Linked DNA regions of Homo sapiens: region 2 is linked to region 1. Evidence: promoter capture Hi-C in 16 types of primary human blood cells and fetal thymus (Javierre and others, 2016). All regions are on one chromosome and are shown on one strand. The core of a region is centred on a gene start or on the middle of the fragment in contact, and the rest is flanking DNA. Distances in the headings are between cores, read along the strand shown. Region 1 holds the start of UNC5B (unc-5 netrin receptor B). Region 2 overlaps LINC02622 (long intergenic non-protein coding RNA 2622).

Region 1 (3,123 bases), core at 335-2,834:
ACTCAGAGAGGACTCCGTGCAGGAGGCCCCGTCCCCACCTGGCTCCGGAGCCGAGCCGCCCGGCAGCCGTGGCCAGCCCACTTGCTTGGGTTCGGGTACCAGAGAGAGGCTGGCTCCATTCAGTCCACAGCCTCCCCGAGAAGACGCAGCCCAGCCAGCGACGCCGGGTCCAGCTACAGGACGAGCGAGAAACGTATTCATCCACGGCGAGAGAGGAGGGTTAGGGACTTTATTTCGGAGCCCACCAGTTCGCTGAAGTCATCTTGGTGGGTCCAGAGCGGGCGCTGTACCAAGGAGAGCGCACCTAGTCTGTTCCCCGGACAGCGAGAATGTCAGTGACCAATTTAAAAGGAAACTCCGCAGGATCGCTAAGAACCCCTACCCGCATCCAACACACACACACACACACACACACACACACACACTCTCCAACACTCAGAAAATTAATAATAATAATAATAATAATAATAATAATAATTCTTCCAGACCTGCGGGCCCAGCGATCTCGGGGAAAGCTATGTGTGCAAGACTTAGCCCTCCCCGCTTCAGGAGCCCTGCAAGCCGGCCTGCCGAGGCTACCGAAGCGCTTCCTGTGTTCAGCAGGTCTTTTCGCTCTCTCCCTCTAGTCTGCAGATTGCTGTCCCTATAGCGCGTAAGAGCCTAGGCGAGCCGGGACCAGACTAGTAAGTTACCGGCGTACGGCAGCGAGCGCACACCTTGCTTATGTAGCCAATGTTCTTTTTCGGGGCGGATGCCAGGCGCGCGGAGAGCCGGGCGTCCCCAGGAGGCGGATCCTCCCGGAGACTCAGACCCTGACTCCTACACCCCTTCCAGGGAGAAGAAGGGATCCCTTTCAGGAGCGAGCAGGGACCTTTCAGCTTACTGTGAAGCCCCTTCCCTGCTCCCCGCTCCCGCGATGTGGATGCGCCATTGCCCACTTTGGGAGGCAGTAAAATCTACATTCTAACTTGGGCGCCCTTGCCGCTTTTCCTGCGCGCATCGATGCGACGAAAGACCACCTCAACTTCAGGACAGAGTGAGGCGCAAGGGTCCCCTAGCCCCGCGCCCCCAGACCCGATCGCTTCCTACCTGCTTGGCTCAGCCTCGGGTCCCAGCAGAGCAGCAGTGCCAGCAGCAGCGCGCCCCGAGCTCCGCTCCGGGCCCCCATGCTCCCGCGGCCTGGTTCGGGCGCCTCTCCCCCAGGGCTGTCTCCCTGGCCCCAGTCTCGCCGCCGCCGTCTCCGCCGCCGCCGCCTCCTCCTCGCCGTCCTCCCCGGCGCCCGGCAGCGCCAGCCCGTGCCTTCCGTGGGGGCAGCGGAAGCCACGCTGCGCGGAGGGCCGCCTGGCACTCGGAGCGCGGTGGGTGCCTGGCGCCGGCTCTCGAACGAGGCTCCGGCGCGCCCCTCTGGCTCCGGGTCTCTGAGCGCTCGCCTGGCTCCGGCGCTGTGCCTCCGAAGTTGCGCGACCGCTCAGTGGCGCTCGCAGCGGCGGCGCCGCGCAGTCCCAGCCCCAGTGCGCGCCTCTCGGAGCCCCGCGGCTGCGTGCGGCTCCGGCGCCCTAGCCGGCCCCAGCCGCCTGCCACAATGCCGAGCGCCGCCGCTCGCTCGCCGGAGTGAGTTCGCCAACCGAGGGGACCGCGCGCGGCCGGGGCGGGGCCTGGGCGACCGAGGGCGGAGCCGACAGGGGGACCTTGAGGGGGGATCCGACGGCCATCTGGGCGCGGCCGCGGCAGAGCTGGGGGACCCGGGGGGAGGGTCCTCGCGAGACGCTGGGCGCAGCGTTTTGAAAAACCCGGCCGCTGGAGAATGGCTGGACGTGGAGGCGGCCCAATTTTCGCTCCCCCAAATTAAGGAAATCTGGCTTTGCGCCTTCATTTGGCTTGGCCATGTCAGCTTTCTCCTCTGATTAAACATAGGACTCTCACTTTTGGCTCCCCTGTCTGTAGTATGCGCTCTGCCTTCCACATGTGGGGGTCTTTCCAAAAAAAAGGCTCCCAAAATGAGAACACCCAAGTCCTGGTTACGCGGGGGCTTACAGCGATATGAAGCTGGGTATAGATTAGGATCATCCTGGCTGGCTCTGCTTGTCTGTATGATCTCCGGCAGAACTGTTAACCAGACCCCTGGAAACCCCTCCAGCACTCTGATCCTGCGTTGTTGTAAACTAGCCTCCTACCTGACAGTGGGACAGCCATTTTTGGCTCAGTGTAAACTTGGACTCTGCCCCTTATTTACTGTGTGACCTTGAACAAGTTACTTAACAATTCTATTGCTCCCTTCATCATCATCTGTAAAATGGAGGAAAAGGATAACTATTTCATAAGGGGGTATAGAATTAAATTTTAAAACTTGTGTGGAAATTGCAGTGCAAGTGTCAATAATCTCTTTCCAAGATTCTCCCCTCCCAGCCAGTCTGATTCCAGGGGGAAAGTCCTGACCACCCAAAGGTGGTCCAAGGAGCACGTGGGGACAGGTGAGGTTTGAAGGATGGGCAGTGTCTTGGGATTGAAACCCAGAGAGATCAGAACGAGCGGATCAGCTAACATAGGCAAAGACCTTCCCTGTGCCAGGCACAGGGCTAAGCACTCTGTATGCATCATGTCAGTTAATTCTCACAACCCTCTGAAGTAAGCACCATTTACATCCCATTTTACAGATGAAGGACCTGAGGCACAGAGGTGTAAAGCCACCTGCCGGAGATCACACTGCTTGGAGTGACTGAGTGACTGAGCAAAGGGGATGGGGGAGATGGGATTGGAAAGAAACCCTCTAAACGGGGGAGCCTCACTTGAACACCTTCCCTGGGGCTGGATTGGGCTGTGCGAAGGGGACTGTCCTAGCTGTTTCCCCAGAGGTGAGGTGAAGGCAGGACTAGTACCCTCTCCACACACACTCCCCTCACAAGCCGGGGTCTTGGAGTATCTAGGGGAGGTCGTGCATGCCATCAGCACATCTCCCTAACCCTCTCTGACTGGGCACCCAGCATCAGGAGGGTGGCAACAGGTGGACTGGGACTCCCTGGGGGAAGAACTTCCATCAATTGAGAAAGGCTGCTGTGGGCAAAGGTAGGTTGCTTAGCTTGGCCTCTGACAGCCCTAGCAAGGGCAGTGGATGAGACAGTCAAC
Region 2 (3,186 bases), core at 510-3,009, 270 kb after region 1:
AGCTCTGCGGGGTGTCAGTGGACAGCAGGGCATGGGCATGAGCGCCAGCCTAGCCTGCGGATGGCATCCCGGGCAGGACAGCCAGGTGGCTGCATGTGGAGTTCCAGAGGGGCAGTCTGGGGACCCAGGGCCTTTCCCAGCTTTGCCTCTACCTCCTGAGTGGCATTAGGCAAGCTTCCTCCCAGGGCCTCTGTTTTTCTCATCTGTAACACGGGCATCCTCTCTTGTCATGCCTGCTTCTCAGGGCTGTGGAGAGGATAAGAAGATGCAGGGTAGGAAAGGGGTTATAAACTATAGAGTGTCGTGCATGTGTGAGAAATGCTGATGACACCACCCTCCAGCTGCTAGTCAGTGCTAGCTGGGCAATTCTGTCCTTCCCCTGACAACACACAGACAGGGTGAAATGGCCCCTGGGTCCCTGGGCAGCCCTGAGCTTCCCCGAGGACAACCTGGGGACAGGAGGACTTCTTCAAGGCCATCACCCTCAGAAAGCTTTGGTTATCCACCCACTCAGCTTATGTGCTCAGAGCAAATGAGGCCAGGACAGTGAGCCATTCCCAGTGCTCCTATTGGACAGAATCTGCACTGGCCCCAGGCTGACACTGGCCCTGACCTGGTGAGACCTCTGGTCCAGCCCTGAGTTGAGGTCCTGAAGCCAACCCCAGCTGTACCCAGCTCTGACCAACTTCTTCATTCAGGATCCGCGTGAGCCCCCAGCCATTGCCTGAGCCATCCCCTGACCTCAACCCCTGGCCAAGCCCCGACCCAGCCCTCCCTGTCACCCTTCAGTTCCAATGCCAGTCCACATGCCCCCACCCCAACCAAGCCTAGGACAGCCCCCTCCTCCCACTCAAAACTACACTGTGCTCCAAACCGTGTCAGCCTTGCCTTGGGAAAAAGAGAGAGACCCCAGTGTCCCCAGCAGTTTACACTGCGGGCACCTTCCACAAACTGCAGAGCCCTCCTGCCCACACTATCCCCTCAGCACATGCCTGTCATTAGCCATTCTTCCCAGTTGGCACTATTTTCAGGTATCTGCACACAGAGACATCTAGCAACTCACCAAAAGCCACACAGCATAGCTGTGGCTGGGCGAGGACTCAGATGGCCACCAAGAGATTCCTAATTCACTCACTCAGCCATTCAGTCACTAAACAAACATGCACTGAGTACCCACATCCATGCCAGGCCCTCGGGGTCAGTTATTGGAAAACAGACATGGCCCCTGCTCTCAAGGGGCTCACAGGCTGGGCAAAGATGAGACTTGTTCCCTGTAACTGCACCAAACTTCTTGCAGTTGCTGCCTCATTCCCTCCCCAACACACACACACACACACACACACACACACACACACACACACACACACGCTCCACCCTCCAGGCTGGCAAAGTGGAGACACACCTGAAATTAGCATAATGGGCTTGGGGGGGTGGAGGGAGGCCCAGGACCTCTTTGTCCATCTGTGATGCTACCAGGAATGAGGCCCGTGTTGGTGGCCGTGGGAACACGCAGTGCTGCATCAGTAATTGGGTCCATGTGGGAAGGGGATGAGCAATGATGTCCCCATGTCCCTAAGCACACAGGGTGACTTGCAGTGACCCTGCCTAAAGCCCACATCTCCACAGCCATGATGGAGTAGCAGGCAGCAGCCACTGGGCTGAGGCTGCAGGAGACCTGCCCACCAGGCCTTCACACATGTGCGGGCTCTGCACAGGGCAGGATGTCAGGGAGGCTGAGGACAGAAGCCCAGGGGCTGTCCCCAGCTTCTAACATCAGCGGGTCATAGAACTTCCTGCCTCAGCTTCTTGAAATCATGGCGTCCTTGACCTCAGGTACCCCTTCCATTATGCTCCGGCTCTCCCAACTTCTTAGAAGCCTCCTCAACTCCTGGCCCCTTTTGCGGAGGAGGCGGGAGGCAGTGAAATCATGGCATGAAGAGGTGGCGGACCCAAGCTCCAGCCCCCATGCTGCAGGAGCAGCTGTGTGACCTTTTGGGCAGGTCACCCAGCCTCATGCACCACCTCAGTGTCTCATCTAAGAAACAAGGCTGTGGGAGCCCTTCCCACAGGGTGGTGGTGACATCAGACTGCCACTGTGCTTGGCTAAAGGCTGGAGGCACAGAGGGTACCCAGCCAACGGGAGTTCCTTCATCTTATCTCACCTGCCACAGAGCCAGTCTCCCAGCACCACAGCCCCAAAGCAGCCCCCCAGGTGGGAAATGCCTTGGGGGTACCTACTGTTCCTTTGCTCACCACCCCTCCACAGCCTCCTCTTGGGTGGTCTTCAACTTCTACTTTCCCTCCCCCACGCCCTGACATCTGCCTCCTCCTCCCCACCCCTCACACAGAGCTCTCCTGATGCCCTGAGGCCTCCAGTGCCTCCATTCACAAGGAACTGCAATGGTACAGCCTTAATCTGTGTTCCTTCTCCTGGGCCTCCATATTTTGGAAGCTGGGACTGTTGACCTAAATGTATCCAAAGAAATGACTTCCTAATGGTGGAATTACGGGTATCGGGCATCTTGGTAGGAGGGAGCTTTGAGAATGAGAGCCTTCTTAACACCTCTCCAATCATACCCCATGGCTCCCCTTCAGGGTAAGAGTCTTCCTACACAGAGATCAGTGGATCTGGAATAAAGCCAACAGCCGCCGCCTAGCCCTGAGCATGCTTGGAAACCCACAGCCTGCTCTTGGACAGGAAGGTTCAGCCACAGCAGCCAGGACAGCTGCAGCTTTAAGAACGACTCCTGAGCCCAGAGAAGCATGGAGTGGAGGGGATTGATTTTTGGGTCCTCCTGGAGACTGGGATCCAAAATCAATCTGGCAATTAATAGGCAAGGTGTGAAATGGCTCTGGTTTCAGGCTCCCAGTGTCCCTGGTTGTCTTCCCCAGAGAAGGGCCCTGCTGCCTCTGTGCTTCCTTCCACTCCCCATATTCTGGGGCTCTGGTGACAGCTCCTGAGAAGTCCAGCTGGCTGGCCCTCTTCCAGGGCCTTGTCACCTGGACAGGGCCACAGGATAAGCTTGGCCAGCTGGCAGGGCTGGGAGGAGGGAGCAGGCAGCCTGGATTAGTGGCCAGGGAAGGGAAAGCCACCAGGGGCCCTTTCAAGCCCCTCCATCTCCACCCCTACATCACAGGTAAGAAGCAGGACATGGCGGGGCTTCTAGGGACTCTAAATTTCCAGAG

The links. The method cuts DNA at HindIII sites, captures the fragments that hold promoters and counts their contacts. A CHiCAGO score of 5 or more calls a contact.
Region 2: a fragment that was not itself captured here is called in contact with the fragment with the promoter of UNC5B in region 1 in 5 of 17 cell types (endothelial precursors, M1 macrophages, M0 macrophages and 2 more); the score reaches 13.1 in endothelial precursors.

What each region holds. Positions count from the first base shown.
Region 1 is chr10:71,211,031-71,214,153 of GRCh38, reverse strand. UNC5B (unc-5 netrin receptor B) reads right to left here and starts at 1,584. Exons shown (of 17, transcript NM_170744.5): 1 at 1,090-1,584. The coding sequence starts at 1,168. RefSeq lists a silencer at 1,424-1,683 and an enhancer at 1,528-1,822. The HindIII fragment of the contact is 10,825 bases long and covers 1-3,123 here.
Region 2 is chr10:70,940,844-70,944,029 of GRCh38, reverse strand. All of the region lies in intron 1 of LINC02622 (long intergenic non-protein coding RNA 2622), which reads right to left. Among named protein-coding and RNA genes, the nearest start is that of LINC02622, 3.4 kb to the right of the region's middle. The HindIII fragment of the contact is 2,530 bases long and covers 495-3,024 here.